Linked DNA regions of Homo sapiens: region 2 is linked to region 1. The links are contacts of gene promoters, found by promoter capture Hi-C in human tissues and cell types (Jung and others, 2019). All regions are on one chromosome and are shown on one strand. Each heading gives the region's core, a stretch centred on a gene start or on the middle of the fragment in contact. The rest is flanking DNA. Distances are from core to core; before and after follow the strand shown. Region 1 holds the start of YOD1 (YOD1 deubiquitinase). Region 2 overlaps CR1L (complement C3b/C4b receptor 1 like).

Evidence for each region. The method cuts DNA at HindIII sites, captures the fragments that hold promoters and counts their contacts. A contact is called where the count stands out against the background at its distance.
Region 2: a contact is called between a fragment that was not itself captured here and the fragment with the promoter of YOD1 in region 1, in 1 of the 25 tissues and cell types used here (hippocampus).

Annotation. Positions count from the first base shown.
Region 1 is chr1:207,047,967-207,053,768 of GRCh38, reverse strand. It overlaps YOD1 (YOD1 deubiquitinase), which reads left to right and starts at 2,561. Exons shown (of 2, transcript NM_018566.4): 1 at 2,561-3,081; 2 at 4,046-5,802. The coding sequence starts at 2,739. The coding sequence ends at 4,749. It overlaps PFKFB2 (6-phosphofructo-2-kinase/fructose-2,6-biphosphatase 2), which reads right to left and starts at 494. Exons shown (of 15, transcript NM_006212.2): 1 at 403-494. RefSeq lists enhancers at 564-1,203, 2,427-2,997. The HindIII fragment of the contact is 3,829 bases long and covers 2,340-5,802 here.
Region 2 is chr1:207,668,016-207,673,817 of GRCh38, reverse strand. All of the region lies in intron 1 of CR1L (complement C3b/C4b receptor 1 like), which reads right to left. Among named protein-coding and RNA genes, the nearest start is that of CR1L, 26 kb to the right of the region's middle. The HindIII fragment of the contact is 6,387 bases long and covers 136-5,802 here.

The sequences.
Region 1 (5,802 bases), core at 1,312-3,811:
TCAAGCCCTGCTCCGCACCCTCTCCCTAGTTACCCCCGGGACTCAGTCTAAAGAACGCCGGAGCGCTGAGGTGGTAAATGACTTCCCCAAGGTCACCTCAGGAAGAGGGGTAAGCCCTGATTCAAACTGGAGTGGGAAAGTCCTGAGCTCATGCCCCCAATTCAGACAACAGGGGGCTGGTGAGGACGGAAGATCCTGCGCCTTCAAGAGCCTTACACGATTCCTTTACTGACCACACAAATCCTCCAACCCAAACACAGACTGTGGCTCCCGGTCCCAGAACGTCCGCGCTGCCTGCCATGCCTGGGGACCAGCACCTCTCCCCGCACTTCATCCGGGGGCACGCAGCCCCCACATCCCGCCCCGCTAGACCCTACCCGGGGCTGCGCAGCTGTGGCTCACCCTACGATCTCTCCTAAGATCCCTCCCTGCCTTGGCCCCGGCGCCTGCCCTGTAACGCGACCGAACCGAGCCGACAGCTTGTGGCCGGGACCGGCGCTACAGTCGCCGGCAAATCATGTGAGCCCGTCTGGCCCCGCCCCCTCGCGCGTAGGTCCTCACCTGGAGAGAATCATCCACCAATCGGGCGCCTGCAGGACCCAGGGGGCGGGGCAGGGTCGCAATCGCCTAACTGGCTCGGGAAGGCGGCTGGAAGTCGGAACCAGAGAGATCACAAGCTCCTGAGTTTCCCAGCGCCGAGGAGCCTGGTGGCACTGTTGCTTGGTAACTAATAGGGCTGGGGGCGGTGTTAATAAAAAGCTTGACTTTTTTCTGACTCTCGCGAGAGTAGACTATTCGGTAGGCGTCTTGAGAGCGGGTGTGCCGGGTGACGAGAAAATGCTGCAAAGATTAACGCTCTCATTCCTGAATCCCAGCAGAACCTCATTAGATCCATAAATGGGAACGTAAGCTTTAAAGATGTTTTTGCTAGAATAAACTACCACAACACTTGAGCTAATTATGCCTTAGGGTGTATACATACCCGGCTCCACAGGTCAGACGCTGTGACCTAAGAAAATCAACCACTCTCATCGTTGAACCAGAAGCTTCCCTGGACCCACCCATACACCCCATTGGAGTTTTTTTTGTTTTGGTTTGGTTTGGTTTTTGTTTTTTGAGATGGAGTTTTGCTCTTGTTGCCCAGGCTGGAGTGCAATGGCACGACCTTGGCACCGCAACTTTTGCCTCCCGTGTTCAAGCGATTCTCCTGCCTCCCAGTATCTAGAATTAAAGGCATGGACCACCACGCCCAGCTAATTTTGTATTTTTAGTAGAGACGGGGTTTCTCCATATTGATGAGGCTGGTCTCGAACTTCTGACCTCGGGTGATTCACCCGCCTCGGCCTCCCAAAGTGCTGGGATTACAGGTGTGAGCCACTGCGCCCGGCCACCCCGGTGGACTTCTAACCACTCCTACCTTCCCTCCTACCTACCCCCTAACCCAGGCTGTATCATCCGTTGCAGTCGTCTTGAAGAACCAAGGAGGAAAATTGCACCAGCAAAAAAAAATTGAGTCATGAAAGATGTGAAAAGATGGAAACATTACATATAATTTATTCAGAAGCAAAGTCTTTTACAGTGGAGGTGAGTTTGCACCAAGTGAACTACACTTTTCATAGTTGCCCCAGCGGGCCCGTTTGATGCTTGATAAACCCACTCTTGGCAAGTGGGACTTGCTGTCTGAATCCCGGCTGGATAAAGAACAATGAGTATGGATTTCTTGGAAAAGAGAGATATAAATTCAGGGATGTCTTTATTCCTCCTTCGCCTGGGAATTAAACTAATTCTTCCAAAAGTTCAAACAGTTATCTCCTCTTTAAGGCTTTTTACAACTCCCAGAGTGCTCTAGTTGCCCTCTCTATGTCTATACAACTCTGTCTTTATTCATTCAGCCAGTATTTGTTGAACACTTTTTATTTGCGAGGCACAGTCCTGGGTTCTAGGCATACACGTTTGAAAAGGTACAGATAATCTAGCATTATCACGTTGCTTTGAAATTCAGTGGCTGTGTGTCTCACACCCCACCCTGTCTCCCAACTGCAATGAATACTTGTTACAATGAAGGCAGGAATGAAGTCTTCATATTTGTATGCCCAGGAACTGAACTGGAATCTGATGACACGCGTTACACGACTCCTCCTTACACTGCCACCACCTGAATGAGGCAGCTGCCCTGGGCCCAGATGCTGACCTCATACTGTGCTTTCTGAAGTGGCAAATAGACGTTTTCAAGCACAGTCCCAGGGAGGCAGAAAGGCCAGTCTTTTGGCCCCTGGAACCCCAATGAGTCAATGTTTAATGCAGCCACGAGTCTAGTCACAAGTGTGATTGTTTTTGACTGGTCCTTTGACTCACTGACCATTCCTGGCATTCGTTTGCGTTGTGAACTATGATTCTGTTTCTCCTGGTGTAGTCTGGGTGTAGTGTGGAAGCCCCAATTTAATAATTTCCGACCTCACTAAGTGCAAGGTCACATTCCAATCTCCAGACCTTCATTCAGGAACTCCTTCCCCCGCCCTCTTTTCTTGAGCATATATGCTACCCACGCGGAGGGCACCTCACTCGCTCTATAGGTAGCAAGACCCGTTGTCCTTTAGGAATACGGAGGTTTACATCTTCGTTCTGAGGGTGGGGGAAAAATCAGTTGTCACTTTAAAAGAGTTCGCGCTTGCTAAGGTACTAAGGCAGAAGCCGCACCGAAGCGTCGCGATAACTGCAACCACCCGCAACTTCTCGCGATGTTTGGCCCCGCTAAAGGTCGCCATTTTGGAGTCCACCCGGCGCCTGGTTTCCCCGGCGGCGTCTCCCAACAGGCTGCCGGGACCAAAGCTGGCCCCGCGGGTGCCTGGCCTGTGGGCAGCCGGACCGACACGATGTGGCGGCTCCGCTGCAAGGCCAAGGACGGCACCCATGTTTTGCAGGGGCTGTCCAGCCGGACCCGGGTGCGGGAACTCCAGGGCCAAATTGCCGCCATCACCGGGATCGCCCCCGGCGGTCAGCGAATCCTCGTCGGATACCCTCCCGAGTGCCTGGATCTCAGCAATGGGGATACCATTCTGGAAGACTTGCCCATCCAATCTGGTAAGGAATCAGGGCTGGGGCCAGGGAAAGTCCCGGGAGGATGGAGAGGGGCGTGAGAGAGAACAAAACACCAGTCAAGGCAAGGTGGCTGTGAGTCGGCGGGGGGGCTTTGAGGCCAGGGGCGAGGATAGATCAAAGAACAGAGAATGCTGACGGGGGCCAGGGCAAGTGTCTAGCAACTCCTTGTCTTGACACAGGGTTGAAAGGGAACCCAAAGCCTTGAAGACCCCCTTCCCCATTCCGCTTTCTGGTCGGCTTTGAAACTATCCCATTTTGTTTTCCCTCGGCGTCCACAAAAATATAAAGTAGGGCCTATTTTCTCTGTCCTTATGTCTCTTTTTCCCTATATCACCGATGAGATCTCAAGGGTGCAGGATTTTTTTTTTCTTGATTCATTTTTGCAGTCCCCTTCGTAGATACTTCGTTTGACAGGCATACTCATTTTCGAGTTAGCTTTTAAAACACCCACTGAAAGCTCTTTCAATTTCTAACCAGCAGCAGTTATTTCTGTGCCATATCAAAACTTGAACATCAGTGTTTATAATTAAAAGCTTTCAGTTGCTGTATCAAGGATGTTGTAAACACTCTAGAGTAGATAAGTTTCCGGAGAAGGAGAACCCCCTAGCGGCCTACTCTGTAGTGAGCACCTTCTGTAAAATACTGTATAAGGAAAGGAAATTTTGTTTTTGAAATGTATCTTTTTAGGTAAGCTTGAAGTTGTTTACTCCAGACCCCTTCACTAAATTGGGATGCAACCTCAAGTGTTTTTTGTTCTTTTTTCATCTTTATGAAAATTCAGTGAACAAAGATTCTTACTGGTAACTTACTTGCAAAACTGTATTCTCCTTAGTAACCCCAGTTTATGCTTTAACTCCTTCAGTTTGTAATTTACAGACTTGGCTAGAGAACACTCGGTTTCTTCTGTAATTTCTTTGCAGATCGGGATTTGTTTTATTTTTAACAGGTGACATGCTGATCATTGAAGAAGACCAAACCAGGCCCAGAAGTTCACCTGCATTTACTAAACGTGGTGCTTCTAGTTACGTCAGGGAAACTTTGCCTGTGCTTACCAGAACCGTGGTCCCAGCAGACAACTCTTGCCTCTTTACTAGTGTGTACTATGTCGTCGAAGGAGGAGTCTTGAATCCAGCTTGTGCCCCTGAGATGAGACGCCTCATAGCACAAATTGTAGCAAGCGATCCAGACTTCTATAGTGAGGCAATACTGGGAAAAACAAATCAAGAGTACTGTGACTGGATCAAAAGGGATGACACTTGGGGAGGAGCAATAGAGATATCGATTTTGTCCAAGTTTTACCAATGTGAAATATGTGTAGTGGATACACAGACAGTAAGAATTGATCGTTTTGGGGAAGATGCAGGATATACCAAAAGGGTTCTGCTTATTTATGATGGCATCCACTATGATCCACTTCAGCGTAACTTCCCTGATCCAGATACACCTCCTCTGACCATTTTCTCCTCTAATGATGATATTGTTCTTGTACAAGCACTGGAATTAGCAGATGAAGCTAGAAGAAGGAGACAGTTTACTGATGTCAACCGCTTCACCCTGAGATGCATGGTATGTCAGAAAGGATTAACTGGACAAGCAGAAGCAAGGGAACATGCCAAGGAGACAGGCCATACCAACTTTGGAGAAGTGTGACCTATGCATGAATGAGGGTTGAAGCCTACTACCTCACACATCCAGAAGGCTCTGGGTTTTCCAATAAGCTATGGTAACCCTAAAGAACAAAGGATACAATGCTTGAACCATCCTTTTAACTTAAAACCACTAAGACACTGAAATTCCTTGTTAAGATTAAAATTAGTGTGCAAGTTTACAGATGTGTGTCTACAGTGGTAAACTGTACATACATGCCTCTTTCTGCTGGAGTGACAGAATAGGTGATCCTTGCCACCTACTGACACTGACCTGAAGGTTGAGATTGAGTATTATAAACTAGCACCCAGCAGCTTTAACTTGTAGAAGAAAGCATCACATTTTGGGTAATGTGGAAGGCCTCCTGTGAGTCCACTGGGCATACGATTGAGATTGAGTATTATAAACTAGCACCCAGCAGCTTTAACTTGTAGAAGAAAGCATCACATTTTGGGTAATGTGGAAGGCCTCCTGTGAGTCCACTGGACATTTACCACAGTGTCTCCAGTAACTGAGTCTTTTTAAAAACTCTGAATGAGTTAAGTTTCTAAATTATGAATTGATTCATCAAATGAAGATACTCAGAATTGTCCAAACTGATTTTATATTGCAATTTGGTAGACATTATAAATGTGTGCTTAACCACTGATAAGTACATCACAAGCAATTTTTACAGGGATGAGTCTCATCCTTGAGAATGTTATCACAAAACAGGAACTGATTGTGCCCTGTTTAAGATCTCTAGCATATAAAACGTAGAATGTATGAGGGAATAGGTGCCTGAGCAGCTTCCTGAAGCTTTAAAAGACCGTTGGCCTCGTGTTTTAATGCAATTCATGTATTGGTCTTTGTCACATTGGATAACATTTTAAAGTTAAGCAGGGTACTTTTTTAATTGAAATTCCTTGAAATTCGAGTCCTCAGTTTTTTCTTCATTTGCGTAAAGTTTATCGGGGGGAATTTAATTTTCTCAGCTTTTTGTTAAGAGCACTTCCTCCAAAAAATTTTTTTCAAGTAATAATGCTCTGCTTTGGGTTGGTTTTTGTAAGATTTTTT
Region 2 (5,802 bases), core at 2,080-4,579, 620 kb before region 1:
AAACCTAAGAGTAAAATGCTGAGTAATATGACAGGTGTGTGTGTAAGGTTTTAAGAAACGGTTGAACTATTTTCTAAAGTTATGTTGTAATTTTACCTGCCGAATAGCAGTATATTATAATTCCAGCTTCTCCACTTTATTGCCAACACTTGGTTTGGTCAATCTTTTCCATTTTAGCCATTCTAGTGGGTATATTTTGTTATCTCATTTCGGGTTTTTTCTTGTATGACTCAGCCCAATTTCATGCACTCCTGGTTCAGATCTTCCATTCAAAGCAAGCTGATTTATTCTGTGCTATACGCACAATTAACACATCATCACTTTCATGTCTGCGCAAATATGAGCTGTCAACCCGAAGTACACTCTGCTTTCCATTCTGCATACTTACCCTTTAAGGAACAGACTTGCACTTGCTTTGCTTAGGCATGTCTGTCAGCTTAAAAAAAGAGCATGCACTTTCAAAAATATAAAGTAATAAATTATATATGTACACAAATATAAATTATATGCCTAAATATAAATTTTTGAAATGTAAAACAGATAAAATAAACATTTTAAATGCTCTGTTAATCATGATCACTTAACACAATCATTAGTTGACATCTAAGGGGACAAAAAACAGCCACAGTGAGTTCCTCTGGTCACAATAGTGAATGTAAAGCTGTATTTCAACTGTCTTCATGATACTTTCTAGATTTTTTGGTTTCATCAAGTTGTGATCAGTTGTGATTAGATTGACAGCATTTGTTTCTCTTAATGTCTCTGACAAAAGAAATTTGTATACATGTGTCTTTGCAGGGAGGGTGAGAGGGATTGTCAACTCTGCCATTTTCTTGTTTTCTGGAGTTCGTCTTATTAAGTGATCTTCACCCAGTATTTCTGTGTAGGACAGTTTTGATGTTGCCTGTCCGAATGTGAAGTTTATTTTAGATAACAGTAGATAATATAAATCATACATCTACTCATCCGAGCATATGTAAACCAGAATACATCACAAAGCACAGAAAGCAAATTGGAATTACCCTTCTTTCTATCTTGCACCTTTACCTAGCAGGGAAAACCAAATCAGATCCTACATGAGGACCATGTGAGGGCGCCAGAGTCTACCCTATGTTAAACACTCCCTGGTAAAGCTTAATTAGCATACTATTTTTATGGCTCACAATGTGGTCTATCCCCATGAATGTGAGCCAGAGAATGTCTTTTGCTGTTGTTGGATGAAGTCGTCTGTATATGTCAATTATATCCAAGTGGATTGATGGTGCTGTTGAGTTCAAGTATGTCCTTATGGATTTTCTGCCTGCTGAATCTGCCCATTTCTGATAAAGAGACTTCAGCACCTTTATCTTTTCTGATATCAGAAAAGATAAAGGTGCTGAAGTCTCCAACTATGATAGTGCATTCATCTATTTCTCCTTGCAGTTCTATCAGCTTTGCCCCACATATTTTGTTTCTCTGTCAGATGGATACATATTAGATATTGTTATGCCTTCTTGGAGAATTAGCCCCTTTATCATTATATGATGACCCTCTTTATTCCTAATAATTTTCCTTCGTCTGAAGTCTGCTGTGTTTGAAATTAACACAGCTACTCCTGCTTTCTGTGACTAGCATTAGCATGGTATATCTTTACCCATTTACTTTTAATATATATTGTCTATATTTAAAATGGTCTTATAGGGAGTACACAATATATAGTTGAGTTTTGTTTGTTGATCGACTCTGATGATCTGTTTCAATTGGTGCCTTTAGATCATTGACACTCAAAATGATGGTTGATATAGTTGGTTTAATATGTTACTTGTTTCTATTTGTTGTCTTTCTTCTCTTGTTCTCTGTTTCTATTTTTTGTCTTGCATTCTTTTCCTGACCTTTATTTTATTTTATTTTTATTTTTGAGACAGAGTCTCACTCTTTCGCCCAGGCTGGAGTGTAGTGGCATGATCTCGGCTCACTGCAACCTCTGCCTCCCAGGTTCAAGAGATTCTCCTGCCTCAGCCTCCTGAGTAGCTGGGATTACAGGCACCCACCATCATGCCCAGCTAATTTTTGGATTTTTGTAGAAATGGGTATTCACCATGTTGGCCAGGCTGGTCTCAAAGTCCTGACCTCAAGTTATCTACCCTGCCTCCTAAAGTGCTGGGATTATAGGTGTGAGCCACTGCGCCTGGCCCCGTTTATTGTTTTAACTGAGCATTTTATATGATGCAATTCACTCTTCCTTACTGGCATATCAATTGTACTTCTTTTTTTCACTTTTTTCAGTAGTTGCCCTAAGTTTGCAATATCTATTTGCAGCTAATCTAAGTTCTCTTTCAAATAGCACCATACCACTTCATGGGTAGTAGGAGTACCCTCTAATGACAAAACAATCCTAGTTCCTCTGTTATTTTTTATATATAAATATTCCCATAAACTGTCCTATGCAACCTGTTTCTGGATTCACTCTTCAAGTGCTAGTAAAGTCATACTCTTTTCCCTCACCCTTTCCTGATCATAGGAGTTGAGATTTCTCCCTTTTCAGTGATCCTGCAGTCTTGCACGACTGCTTAGTCATGGTTTTTCAGACATGCATGAGGGTTTTCAGATTACAAAACGCTGTCACATGCACTACCCCACCTGATTTTCAAAATACCTCTCTCAGAAATCAGGATGTCAGTCATGCTCATTTTATACACGTGGACACTGAAGGTCAGTGATGTGACTTAAGTTGCTGGGTCCACAGCCCCAGTTGGTAAGTAGCAGAGTCTGGAAAAACCAGAACACTGGCTTCCTAAAAAGTAGATTTCATAAAACTCCACCACCTACTTCTATATGCATACACCTTGGGAGCATAGCTCTTTCTCTTACATTTCTTTTAAATTCCAAAGGACTGTGCACACCGGAAGCATCCATAAGCATTTTAAAATTGAAATTACTCCAGCAACAAAATTTCTAGGTAGTTTAGTTTAGGCTGTTTCACATTTGGAGGTTATTGTGAGAACCTCAGTAAGCACTGACAACAGATTGCTTAACTTACTGGGCATGCTTCTCTCCTAAAAATAAAATTGTAAGTTTTATCATATCTCTTCACTAGACAGGTTACTTTCTGGTGCCTAAGGAGATCAAATATTAATAACAACTCTTGGGGGAACTTGGTTTTCTTTTCCCCTTACTCTTTTAGAGAAGAAGGAACACTCAAATAATGAATGCAAAACGTCTAGTGGCAGAGAAGGACGAACCCTGAGTTGTCAGGAAGAGACAGGACCAAAACAACCAAAACTGTCACTTCAAGTGAGATGTTGCCAGTGAGTCTAGGCAACCAAGAAGACTTCTGGGGAGCCCAAAACTAATAATAGAAGGGTTCTAACTGAAGATGTTTACCTACTTGAAGTTAAAAAAAGGAAGAGATGTGGCCTCAAAATTTCCATAGTAGTTATAATAGGCTTTATTTTGTACTAAACACATCACTAAAATGCAAATTGTAAACATATCTACTGTCCCTTCTACCTGCAGCGGTTACATTGCATGTTCTGGGGCTTCCCTTGCTCTTCTAATCCCCAAGTGCCTGGCATGCATCTGTCTTAAAGTATGCTGTCAATCAAGTGCATCATGATGATGGCGGTGGTGGCTTGGGGTAGGGGACGAGGACAGTTCCATGCAGGACATCCCTAGGACTGCTTGTCTAAACACCACTGGGAGCAAAGTGCAGAGGTAACGGTTGGGGGATAGAAATGGACTCGGGGACAGGCCCTGTGTTAGATACTCGACAGGCTTTATGCCACTGAGGCAGCAACTCCACAATGCAGAGATACCAGTGTCCCCATTTTACAGAAGAGCAAACAGACTTAGGTGTGCTAACTTGCCTCACAGTTAAGTTTCTAGGACCAGAACTCAGGTTTGTCGGATCCCCAAGTCCCGTTTCGCTAGGATCGACGCCACGCTCGGCTATAGCCAGCCGAGGCTGTGAATACACAAAGGCAAGGAATTTCGTGCGGCACCCGCTCAGCATCTGCGCCTTCCACTGCGCTCGTCACGACTTAAGCCCCTGCACGTGGGAACTCCACGCTTACCTAGAGGCAGCGAGGGTCTCCAGTGCGCAGAAGGATCCCAGACCCGCCGCCCTGCCAGGTAGCGCGCTCAGCCCACCCATCGCGCTGCCTTTGGACCCGGGCGCGCAGAGCAGCGCAGCCCAGCGCGGCACGCGAGTTCTCTGCGGGGCCCTGGGTGCCTCGTCAGCCCGGGCGCCTCCCCACGCCCCCCAGCGTTTCACCCCAGGCCACCGGCAGCGCGAGCAGCACCACGACCGCCAGCAGGGATCCTCCGCAGCAGAAGGGGAGACCGGGCGCCGGCTGCCCAACAGGCTCCCGGCTTCTCGGAGAAGAGACCCCCATCCTCCCGAAGCACATCTACAAACCAGATTTGATCTCGAAGAAAACTGAAATAAGAGGAAAAGCGCAGTGCAAAGAGGAGTGACCAATCCTTGTGCTCCGCGCCCAGAGCATGGGGAGGGCTGCGGGGTTCCGGGACAAAATGCTTTTGACCAGCTTCCCCTTCATGGGCAAGGCCATGTTTACTCCCCATTTGCATTGTTTCTAACGAGTTTCGCTGGCAGAGCCCACCTTGCTGACCCAGGTGCAGCAGCAGAGCTTGACAATGCTTGGGCTTCCGATGGATCCCGCGTGTGAGGCCCTGCGCTTCCTTCCAGACAAAGGCGGTGGATGATGGCAACTCACCTCCAAACACCCTGCTTGACTTTTCCTCTTTGCAAGAATGTGTGTGGGAAGGTCAGCTAATGAAATGCCTGCTCTCTGTGTTGAAGGGCAATTGCAGGCGATGTGTACAGTGCACAGGGAATGTGAAGAACCAATTTCCTTATCGTGAATTGAGATGTCATGCCATTGTAAGATTTTTAAAAAGGGAAGGACAATTAGATATATATTCAAAAAATGTAAATCTGTGTATAGTATGGAGACTAGATTAAAGCAATAATGGAGAGGGGAGACCAGCCAGGGAGCTTTTGCTGACATCCAAGTGAGGTTTGATGGTGGCCCTGACTGGGTGGATAAAGTGGACAATTAACAAAGATATTGGAGATGGAATGAACAGTTGCTCATGTATTGGATTTTGGTTACTTCCTTTCTTAAGGTTAGTAGTGAGAAGAAAGCAATCAAGAGTTAGCCCCAGGATTAGCAATGAATATGGATGTAGGAGTGACAGATGTAGGGCAGAGGGTTAAGTATTCAAGGATGAATTTATTCTTATGTATCTGTGACCCTGTGCCCTTTAACCAATCTCTCTCCATCTCCCATTGTCTCTCCCTACCCCAACCTCTGGTAACCAGTATTCTACTCTCTACTTCTATGAGATGAGCTTTTTTAGATTGCACATGACTGATATCATACAGGATTTGTCTTTCTGTGCCTGATTTACTTCATTTAATATAATATCCCCTAGATTCATCCATGTTGCTGCAAATGATAGGATTTCATTCTTTCTTATGGCTGAATAGTATTCCCTTGTGTATATATACCACATTTTATTTATCCATTCGTCCATTGGTGAACACTTGGGTTGATTCCATACCTTGGCTATTGTGAATAGTGCATCATTGAATGTGAGAGTGCAGATATCTTTTCATCATACTGGTTTCCTTTCTTTTGGGTATATACCCAGTAGTGGGATTGCTGGATCATATGGTAGTTCTGCTTTTAATTTTTTGAGAAACCTCCATACTATTTCCCATAATGGCCATATTAATTTGGATTCCCTAACAGTGTATAAGAGGTCTCTATTTTCCACATCCTCAGCAGCATTTGTTAT